3 separate regions of the Homo sapiens genome follow, and regions 2 and 3 are each linked to region 1. Evidence: promoter capture Hi-C in 16 types of primary human blood cells and fetal thymus (Javierre and others, 2016). All regions are on one chromosome and are shown on one strand. The core of a region is centred on a gene start or on the middle of the fragment in contact, and the rest is flanking DNA. Distances in the headings are between cores, read along the strand shown.

The links. The method cuts DNA at HindIII sites, captures the fragments that hold promoters and counts their contacts. A CHiCAGO score of 5 or more calls a contact.
Region 2: a contact is called between a fragment that was not itself captured here and the fragment with the promoter of FBXO2 in region 1, in 7 of 17 cell types (activated CD4 T cells, endothelial precursors, total CD4 T cells and 4 more). The highest score is 9.9, in activated CD4 T cells.
Region 3: a contact is called between the fragment with the promoter of ANGPTL7 here and the fragment with the promoter of FBXO2 in region 1, in 4 of 17 cell types (M1 macrophages, endothelial precursors, M2 macrophages and 1 more). The highest score is 8.6, in M1 macrophages.

The regions. Positions count from the first base shown.
Region 1 is chr1:11,653,179-11,656,332 of GRCh38, forward strand. FBXO2 (F-box protein 2) reads right to left here and starts at 1,251. Exons shown (of 6, transcript NM_012168.6): 1 at 1,141-1,251. The coding sequence starts at 1,162. FBXO44 (F-box protein 44) reads left to right here and starts at 1,699. Exons shown (of 6, transcript NM_033182.7): 1 at 1,699-1,774; 2 at 2,628-2,922. The coding sequence starts at 2,658. RefSeq lists silencers at 1,201-1,340, 1,581-1,810, 1,861-1,930. The HindIII fragment of the contact is 12,019 bases long and covers 1-3,154 here.
Region 2 is chr1:11,264,327-11,268,377 of GRCh38, forward strand. No RefSeq gene overlaps it. Among named protein-coding and RNA genes, the nearest start is that of MTOR, 3.8 kb to the left of the region's middle. The HindIII fragment of the contact is 1,977 bases long and covers 1,504-3,480 here.
Region 3 is chr1:11,188,078-11,191,662 of GRCh38, forward strand. It overlaps ANGPTL7 (angiopoietin like 7), which reads left to right and starts at 1,278. Exons shown (of 5, transcript NM_021146.4): 1 at 1,278-1,878. The coding sequence starts at 1,503. The region is part of intron 28 of MTOR (mechanistic target of rapamycin kinase); the gene reads right to left. RefSeq lists an enhancer at 1,631-2,131. The HindIII fragment of the contact is 1,155 bases long and covers 177-1,331 here.

The DNA.
Region 1 (3,154 bases), core at 1-2,500:
TCCGGCCCTGGCCCCATCGGACACCTGATGCTCCCCGAAAGGTGCACCTCACCCAGTCCCCTCTTCTGGCCCCGGGGCCTGGCACTCGAGGCCCCAGATCCAATTACAGCTCCCCCCACCCTCTCTCTTACACACACAACTCCCCACATTGTTGCCGGCGGAAAGTTATCTGGCCCCTGGAAGCTGCCTGCCTGCGAGGCTGACTCACTCACCTGGAGTGGGCCCCAGAGTCCAGGGTATAGCTGATCCCTGGGAAAAAGCAGGAGCCAGTTCTGGAGCCCTACAGAGGGTGTGGCCAGAAGGCCGTGGATTGGGAGCAAGGGCTGCGAGAGCTGGAATTTTCAGGGCTGGAGGCGGGGGAATGGGGGGTGAGGGGGGGCCTGAGCTTTCATCAGTCTGTTTGCCACCGCCTAACCCAAGCAATGCCCATCCCCAGCTGGACCTGATGAGGAAAGAGTGAGGGCTGTCTGCAGGCAGGTCTTGTTTCCATCCTGACTCAGCAGGCAACCCCTGCAGGCCCCGCAGGGAGTTGGAGGGATGGGGGTGAGGGGTCTTGGGTGCCAGAGAGGATGACTGGGCAGCCTGGGAAGGCCCTGAGCACCAGCCAAAGCTGCCCCCAACGCTCCCTCACCGCTAGTCGGGTCCCCACTGGGCATCTCACCACCCCGGGGAGGGGCAGCCCCTCCAGACAAGGGAGCTCAGGAGGAAGGCAGGAATAGGTGAGGCCAGGCCTGGGACCCCAAGGAACCCACGGGGATTCAGACGGCCCAAGGCCCAGAGCTGGAAGAGCTGATGAAAGAAAAGGCTCGCAGCCTCCCTCCCAGACGCATCCCAGGCCCCCGCCAGACAGACCCTCAGGAAGCTGGGAGGCGGGAATGTGGGGGTCCTCTGGTGCTACTTCCTGGCTAAATGGGACCCAGGAGTTCTCTCTCCTTGCCAGTCGCCTCTCAAGGCCTCCCGCCAGACCAAGATAGCAGAGAGACGTGCTCTTTGGAGACCGCCTCTAGGGCTTCGCTGGCGTGAAAGTTTGCCGCGCCAGGTCTCCGGGTCCCCTCGCTCTCTGACGCCCCTCTGTGCAGCGCTCGCCCGCCGACCCCATCTCCCCTCCCCGCCGCAGCGAGCGGTCCAGGCGTCGGCTACCTGGGTCACCGTCTCCGTCCATCGCTGCGGAGGGCGGTCGCGAGAGGAGGAGCCGGAGCGCTGCGGGCTGCGCGAGTCCCGGGGCGGCGAGTCCCGGCGCTGTCCGCGTCTGTGTCGGTCCCGGCGACCGCGCCTCTTAAAGGCCCCCGACCCGACCCGCCCCGCCCCGCCTCTGGCCCCGCGCCCGGCCGCCCCGCAGTCCCAGCAGTCTGCTCGAGGCCCGGGGCTGCGGGTTCCTCAGCGGACCGAGGAGGCTGGGAAAGGTCAGGAGTCGTTTTTTTTCCAACTGGGGAGGGGTCCGATTTGGGGCATCTCGCAGCTCGCTCCTGGGGGACTGCTGGGAGGAGGCGGCTAGGGGAGGCACGGAGAGGCTGGGTCAGGCCGAGGGTGAGGGGCGGGTGGCCCAGGCGGAGTCGGAGTATAGGAGGTGCCTTCCGCCCCACCCCCCACACCAGGTAATTTTCCTACGACGCGGTGGGGGTGCGTCCCTGGCCCAGCGCTGCGCGGGGCGGGGCGCGGGGCGCGGGGGCGGGGCCTGGCGGGCCGGGGCGGGGCCTCGCTTTCCAGGCAAGCGCAGGTCCAGGCGGTGCAGCTTGGGCGGCCCAACGGATCGTGCCGCGGCGGCCGAGCGCAGGTGACCGGCAGGAGGGGGCGCGGGGGGCGCTGGGGAGGGGGCGCGGCTGGGCGGGGGCTGCCGGGAAGGCTCCTGGGTTCCGGGTCGCGCCGCAGTTGCCGAGGGAGGCCTGGCACCGACCAGGCCCAGGCCGCCGAGCTTGCCCGGGCTGCGCTGCGCGGCTGCGAACGGGGGCTGGGGTCGCCATCGATGTACAGGGGTCCGAGCCCAGACTTTGGGGGGCATTTTAAGGCACAGCGTGGGAAGGGGAGGCTGCAGGCGCGCTGGCGGACTTGGGGCTGGCGGAGCCCAGCCGCGGGGCTGGGGGTGGGAGTGGGGGTGGGGAGATAGGAAGGGCCCTTCCCTGTCGCCCACCCTCTTGCCACTCCCACCTAGGCAGGAGATCATGTCCTCTGAGATCTTGAGAAGGTGGCTGGAGCCCTTTGGACCTCCGCGGGAGGCAGTGATAATTAGCCTCCTCCTCCCATCATGTTCTGAGGATGGGAGAGAGGATGGTGACGGCACCGGAGGCCTGGGGTGCTCTGCCCGGCTGCGCATTATATCCCCATTAAAGACTGGCCTACTGAAAAAGGCTGGCCCTGGAATCAAAGAAGATCCGGGCTTCTTCCCCCTCTGCCCTTATTTTTGACCTTGGGCAGTGCCTTCCACCTCTATTGTGAGAGGCCAGAGAAAAAAATCAGAGCTCACCTTTTATTAAAGTACCTGATGTGTCCCAAGCTCCTTGGACCGCCCCAGTGACCCCTGGAGGTAAGGCATCCATTTACAGAGAAGGAAACAGGCTGGGAGAGGCACCATGCTCTCCCGAGATAAATGGCAGAGCAGGGATGAGGCCTGCAGCATAGCTTTTCAACAGCTACAGGAGGGTGTCCAGAAGCCACAAGCCATGGCTGTGGGGAACATCAACGAGCTGCCCGAGAACATCCTGCTGGAGCTGTTCACGCACGTGCCCGCCCGCCAGCTGCTGCTGAACTGCCGCCTGGTCTGCAGCCTCTGGCGGGACCTCATCGACCTCGTGACCCTCTGGAAACGCAAGTGCCTGCGAGAGGGCTTCATCACTGAGGACTGGGACCAGCCCGTGGCCGACTGGAAGATCTTCTACTTCTTACGGAGCCTGCACAGGAACCTCCTGCACAACCCGTGCGCTGAAGGTGGGGTACAGGCCGGGTCTGGCATGCCTCCAGTACACAGTCATGACACCAGGAACATGTATTGAGCACTTAGTATGAGCCGGGTACTTTGGATGGTTTAACACCTTTACTTCTCTCACAGTAACCCAAAGAGGTAGCTACTGTTAGTGCACACATTTTTCAGATGGGCAAACTGAGGCCAAGAGTGGTGTTTCTTATTCTTACTATACTCTTTTTTTTTTTTTTTTTTTTT
Region 2 (4,051 bases), core at 1,242-3,741, 390 kb before region 1:
CAGCTACTTGGAAGGCTGAGGCACGAGAATCACTTGAGTCTATGACTTCAAGGTTGCAGTCATCTGTGATCTCCACTGCACTGCAGCCTGGGCAGCAGAGAAAGATCCTGTCTCAAATAATAATAATAACAATAAATAGTGGTAATTAGATGAATATTTGCTAAGAAGGAAAAGGTTCACAACTAGTTTAAAAATTACAAGTTGTGCAACAATGTAAGTATAATACAACCATTTACAAAAATATTTATGCATTTCTTATATGTCTCTGTTTACATGGGGGAAATGTGCACAACTAAGATGTAATTTGGGAAAGACACACTTTTTTTCTTTATACATTATCAATTACTTATGTAATAAAAACAAGTGAAGGTAGAAGAAATGAGTTTTCAGAAGGTCTAAACTGCCAAATTAAAGATAGTTGGGCTGGGTGCGGTGGCTCACACCTGTAATCCCAGCACTTTGGGAGGCCAAAGCAGGAAGATTGCATGAGCCCAGGCATTTGAGACCAGCCTGGGCAACATAGTGAGACTCCATCTCAAATAAATAAATAAATAAACAAATAAAGATGTCAATATTCCGTGGCTAACAAAATGCTTTGTTTGGCAGGGTTTTTGTTGTTGTTGTTGTTATTGTTAATATCTATGATATTGGCCAGGCACAGTGACCCAACACTTTGGGAGGCTGAGGCAGGTGGATTGTTTGAGCCCACCTGGGCAACATGGTGAAACCTCATCTCTACAAAAAATGCAAAAAATTAGTTGGTGTGGTGGCATGCACCTGTGGTCCCAGCTACTTAAGAGGTTGAGGTGGGAGGATCACTTGAGCCCAGGAGGTCAAGGCTGCAGTGAGCTGTGATCTCACCACTGCACCACTGCATTCCATCCTGAGTTGACAGAGTGAGACACTGTCTCAAAAAAAAAAAATTATATATATATATATATAAATATATATATATATATAATTGCTCCTTTTTTTTGAGACAGAATCTTACTCTGTCACCCAGGCTGGAGTGCAGGGGAGCCATCTCACCTCACTGCAACCTCTGCCTCCCAGGTTTAAGCGATTCTCTTGCCTCAGCCTCTCGAGTAATAATGGCTACTTTAGATTTAGCCTCTTTTCATTGCTCCTGTGAGATAAGTATTCCTCTAAATTTTACATTTTCACTGATGTTCAATTTTTTTTTTTTTTTTTTTTTTTAGATGGAGTCTCGTTCTGGTACCCAGGCAGGAGTGCAGTGGCGCAATCTCGGCTCACTACAACCACCGCCTCCTGGGTTCAAGTGATTCTCGTGCCTCAGCCTCCTGAGTAGCTGGGATTACAGGCACCTGCCACCACACCCAGCTAATTTTTGTATTTTTAGTAGAGACAGGGTTTCGCCATGTTGGCCAGGCTGGTCTTGAACTCCTGACCTCAGGTGATCCGCCTGCTTCAGCCTCCCAAAGTGCTGGGATTACAGGCGTGAGCCATTGTGCCTGGCCCAACATCTATATTTTTATCATTAAAAGCTTCTAATATGCAATATAGTCGCTATTCAAATCTCAAAATAAACAAGTTACATTTATCATGAAAAGTCTTGCTCCACCCTTGCCCCTTGACTATGTATTTTCTCAGTTTCTTATGCATCCCTAGATTTTCTGTCTGCAAAAACAAGCAAATATATACGTATGTATATTCCTTTTTTTTTTTTTTTTTTTTTTTGAGACAGAGTCTCACTCTGTCGCCCAGGCTGGAGTGCAGTGGCATGATCTTGGCTCACTGCAACCTCTGCCTCCCAGGTTAAAGTGATTCTCCTGCCTCAGCTTCCCCAATAGCTGGGATTACATGTCTGTGCCATCATGCGTGGCTAATTTTTTTATTTTTAGTAGAGACAAGGTTTCACCACATTGGCCAAGCTGGTCTCAAACTCCTGACCTCAGTTGATCCGCTTGCCTCAGCCTCCCAAAATGCTAGGATTACAGGCACGAGCCACCATGCCCAGCCCATACATATATTTTTATTTTCCCCTTTTGTTATACTATACGCACTATTTTGCATTTTTAAAATTTTACTGCATCTTGTAGATCTTTCTCTTGTAGTTCCAACAGGATTCTATGCCTGCTGCACAGCAACAGTTGACCAATGCAATGAGACAGCAGAGTCTGCAGCAGAGAAAGAGTTTAGTGATCGCAGGGCAGCCAACTGAGGAGATGGGAGTGTTACCAGCGCTGAATTTACATGGTCTGCAGCAAGCTCAGTTCTTGCCTCCTCAGAAGAAAGAATTCAACTGAGGGGCATAAGGCAGAGTGAGAGACTGAGGCAAGTTTTAGAACAGGAGCGAAGTTTATTAAAGAGCTTTAGAGCAGGAATGAAAGGAAGTAAAGGACACTTGGAAGAGAACCAAGCAGTTGACCTGAGAGATCAAGTGCGCTGTTTGACCTTGACTCGGGGTTGGCATACTTCCAGGGTCTTGCATCCCTTCTCCCCTGATTCTTCCCTTGGGGTGGGCTGTCCACATGCATGGTGGCCTGTCAGCACTTGGGTAGGGGCGCATGTGCAGTGTGTTTACTGGAGTTGTGGGCATGCTCACTCAAGATGTGTTTCCCTTACCAGTCCAGTGTTCCTAGAGGAAGATCATCGGCGATTTTGCCTGTTAGTGATCATCTGCGATTTTGCCTCTTAGTGCCCATGCTTGAGCCTACTCGCCCAGCTCCTGAGATCTTATGGGAAGCTGCTGATCACCAGTTTCAGGTGTTTCTATCTTTTGGGAGACTGCCTTTCTCTGGCACCAGCTGCAATCAATTATTATTTTAGCGAGATAGCTTAACAACTGCCTGACCATCACCCAATGGTTGCTTGACATTCCTGGGGTTAGGGGGTGGGGGCCTCTCCTGCTCTGCTCATGCCTGACTAGCTATCTACTGTAACAGGAGGAGACCTTCAAATCCATCTCCCCAAGGAATTCTGAGCTGGGTTTGTTTGTTTGTTTGTTTGTTTTGTTTTTTCTTGAGACAGAGTCTCGCTCTGTTGCCCAGGCTGGAGTGCAGTGGCAGGATCTCAGCTCACTGCCACCTCTGCCTCCCAGGTTCAAGCAATTCTTGTGCCTCAGCCTTTTGAGTAGCTGGGATTATAGGTGTGTGCCACCATACCCGGCTAATTTTTGTATTTCTAGTAGAGACACGGTTTCACCGTGTTGGTCAGGCTGGTCTCAAACTCCTGACCTCTTGATCTGCCCACCTCGGCCTCCCAAAGTGCTGGGATTACAGGAGTGAGCCACCGTGCCCGGCCTGAGCTGGGGTTTTTAAGGGGATTGTAGAGGGGGAGAGGCTGGAAATTTGGTATCGTTTATGGGTTGGGGTAAAGGGGGTGAAATCATCAGGATGTAGAAACTGCATTCTTTGGTGAGTTAGCTCCCTGTGGGGTCTTTCACAATGGCTGTCATCAGTAGTTTCACTGATATGCAGGACCTGAAAGAATACCTCAGGTGGAAAACAATGTTTTGCAAGCTTAAGTTGTCTGATGACAGGGTCCGCATGATTCTGGGACAGTAGGCAGCAAACAACTATGAGGAAATGGCTCAGAGTTCAACATGACCTCATGATGAATGCTGAATGTGCTGCAAGCTTTGTTTATTTTCATTTCTCTCCCTCCCTTCCTCCCTGATTTATTTTATTTTATTTTGAGATGGAGTCTCACTCGGAGTGCAGTGGTGTGATCTCAGTTCACCGCAACCTCCACCTCCCGGGTTCAAACGATTCTCCTGCCTCAGCCTCCCGAGTGGCTGGGATTACAGGTGTGCGCCACCATGCCAGCTAATTTTTGTACTTTTTTTTTTTTTTTGAGACCAAGTCTCGCTCTGTAGCCCAGGCTAGAGTGCAGTGGCGTGATCTCAGCTCACTGCAACCTCTGCCTCCCAGGTTCAAGCAATTCTCCTGCCTCAGCCTCCAGAGTAGCTGGGATTACAGGTGTGCACCTCGGCAGAGTAGCTGGGATTATAGGCGCACCCCACTGTACCCGGCTAATTTTTTGTATTTTTAGTAAAGACAAAGTTTCACCATGTTGGCCAGGCTGGTCT
Region 3 (3,585 bases), core at 28-2,527, 470 kb before region 1:
TGGCATGGGAGGAGAGCTGTCAGGCATCAGGCTTATGTGGGAAGGACCCACGCTGACTACAACAGTACAAGTAACTGCCTGAGTGGCTCCATAACATGGAAACAGCAATCGTATGTTCCAAAGACAGAGTTACTGTTTTAAGGACAGAGGAACCTTTGTATAGATTCTTAGTGAAAAGCTTATTTTAAGGATGTTTGCTGAAACTCCATGTTTTTCACATTTCTTTTCAAAAGAGCATTGTCCTTCATATATAGTACATGAAAAATTACAATATTCATGTTTTTTAGATACAAAGTCATATACAAATAGAGGAGGAATAATTTCAAATTGCAAACCATACCAGCAAAGAAAGAGGGAAATGAGACTCTAGATATGGATTTATTAGGTGACAGGGATTCTTTTCTCTATATTTTAATATATTTTCCAAGTTTTGAACCACGGGCTAAGGATGGGCCTGTTCTCTGTCCTGCCTAGAAACTGACAGAAGCATGGGTGACCAATCCCAGACATGCTTGGCACTGCTGAGTTTTCATCTCTGTTGTAATCTTCTGACACCTCCTTGCAAAATATCAAGTGTTATATGCTAATACTGGCCCTCTCTTTGTTGAAGGAGAAAGCATGTAAAAAGACAACTGTCCAAACCCTGTGGCTACAAAGTCTTTTTTTGGCTTCCTAAGAGATTTACTCTATTCTTCTATTTCTAGAACTTTTCTAAGTTGGAAGATTTCAAATGTGAGATAGTGTTAGATCCAGGTTGAGTAAGGATTTTATAAAATACTAAATAATGATCAGAGATGGGAATAATCAGCCTAGATAAAAGCATATTCAGCAGGATGTCAAAATATACCAGATCCTCATATAAACAGCATGGATTACATTAACAGGCCTCCCTGGGTGAGTAGCGTCTCTTTCGCCTACCTTACGCTCACCCCATGGTTATATAACCTTTTGAACGGAATTTGGAAATTCTTCTGACCCTGTCCTGCTTGCTGATAGAGTTGAGCCAGTGGCTGGCAGGGGCATAATCTAATAGGCGAAACTGGAAACACACAAATTCACAGTCCTCTTGTCTTAGCCCAGAGACTGTACAGGCAAGGAAAGAAAGACTCGCCCCATCTCCCTCCTCCCCTCCTCTGGCCTAAGTTGCCGCTGACTTCACCCAACAGGCACCTGACCCTCCCAGATGAGCTGGGAGGGGCTAAAGCCTGGTGCAGCCATGGTAGGGGTGGAGGTACAGGCAGCAAACAATATTTAAGATGCTGACTTGTGGAGCATTCGGGCTTGGAAGGAAAGCTATAGGCTACCCATTCAGCTCCCCTGTCAGAGACTCAAGCTTTGAGAAAGGCTAGCAAAGAGCAAGGAAAGAGAGAAAACAACAAAGTGGCGAGGCCCTCAGAGTGAAAGCGTAAGGTTCAGTCAGCCTGCTGCAGCTTTGCAGACCTCAGCTGGGCATCTCCAGACTCCCCTGAAGGAAGAGCCTTCCTCACCCAAACCCACAAAAGATGCTGAAAAAGCCTCTCTCAGCTGTGACCTGGCTCTGCATTTTCATCGTGGCCTTTGTCAGCCACCCAGCGTGGCTGCAGAAGCTCTCTAAGCACAAGACACCAGCACAGCCACAGCTCAAAGCGGCCAACTGCTGTGAGGAGGTGAAGGAGCTCAAGGCCCAAGTTGCCAACCTTAGCAGCCTGCTGAGTGAACTGAACAAGAAGCAGGAGAGGGACTGGGTCAGCGTGGTCATGCAGGTGATGGAGCTGGAGAGCAACAGCAAGCGCATGGAGTCGCGGCTCACAGATGCTGAGAGCAAGTACTCCGAGATGAACAACCAAATTGACATCATGCAGCTGCAGGCAGCACAGACGGTCACTCAGACCTCCGCAGGTAAGGAGACCAGTCCCCTGAGGGAGCGTGGAGTGCCTCCCCATCTACAGCACTGCTTCTACATATCCTGGTCATCAGAACCACTACTGGGGCCTCTTTTGTGGGTACACTTTCCCTTTAGTAAAGGCTTATGCAGTATTTCCTTTGACTTCTAATGCTATGTAAGTTTACCTAACACCTTCACGGGTCTCTTTTATCCACACAGTGTTTCAGCCTACCATCTTGGAGTGCTGAGATACTACATGGTTTGCCCAAAGTCACCCAGCAAGTCTTAGAAGCAGGGTTCAAGTCTTCCTGATTGGTGTAGCTCTGCTACTTCCTCACCAAGAGCTGACAGGCTATATCTCAAGAAATTCCAAGGAAGCACCAAACTGTAACAGCTGTTCCTCTGGAAGCAAAGTTTTGCCAGAAACAGTTCTCTGGTGTTCCTAAGATTTACCAGGAATGAGCATTAATGGAATTTTGTGTCCTCTCTCTGTAAACGTAACTCTTCTCATTGGCTCAGAGTTAAGTGTAGAGACACATAACCATGTGAAGAGTCCCTTTGTGTTCAGGAAGGATGCGGCTCCTTAAGGTTCCTCAATTGTGATACGTCTATTTTTTTCCATGGTCTTAAATGAATTTCTCCGAATACAGGATTTTTTAAATGCAATGCTGAAATATAGACTTAATAGGCCAAAAATAAGATAAATTTAATCTTTCTTTTGCAAAATAACTTTTATTTCTGGTTAGCTCAGCTCAGGTGGGCCAACATGAATTTACGGTTTAGAGATAAAAATTTGGTTTTCTGAAATTATCAGGAAAATATTAGTTGTAAGGAGCATATCCTATAGACATGTCATTTCTTGCTGATATAAAAACCATTGGTCCCATTATAAACTACATGAAGAACAAAGACATGATCAGCTTCTACTGACTAAGTCAATGGTTAACCTCAGCTCAAATTAAGAAAAAGTTTTAACATGAAACCAAGCTTGAAAATTCTGTTACCTGAACCAACATGTATCAATCACTTTCTAAGCATGGACTTCCGGGCCCTCAGTTTGGGATTAGAAAGGTATTCTCAGGCCATTTTCCAGACAAGTGAGTCCTGATTTGGTCTGTGAGATGAAACCAGACATGCGGAAGACCAGGCCAGACAGAGGAATCTGACCGTGCCACTTCCTGCTCATCCAAACAGGAGGCTTTCTCACCATCCTGCAAGGAGGTTCTTGGGGTCAAGTGCAGCTCTCCCACCAGGTCTCTTGCTCTTCTTGCCCAGGACATCATTCCTTATTTTTCTTCTCTATGACCAAGTGCTCAGTTACCCTTATATTCTATAAGTAGGTAGTCCCTTAGAGGAAGCAGTAAGTTGGTGCTTTCACCACTAAGACGAAATGAAGAATAGTGATGGCGAAGGCACACGTACTCTACCTCCCTTTCCCAAGGTGCTCTGCAAGAGAACCTATGTGCCTCAGACAACTCCCATCTGCCATCTTGGTGCTCCTCTCTAAGGTCCCAGTGCAGTGGTCACCAAGAAAAGCACCCCGAGACATAGCAGGCAGGAAGCTTCTCTTGGATAGTAAGGGCCGCAGTCTCTGAATCCTATCAGAAAAGGCTGTCTCTTCCACTATGCTCTTTGATATTTAGAATACAGAGCTTAAATCCTGCATAAAGTAGCAGCTCCATGGCCCTAGAGTAAAAAAACTGGCCAGTCTGATGCTCTCA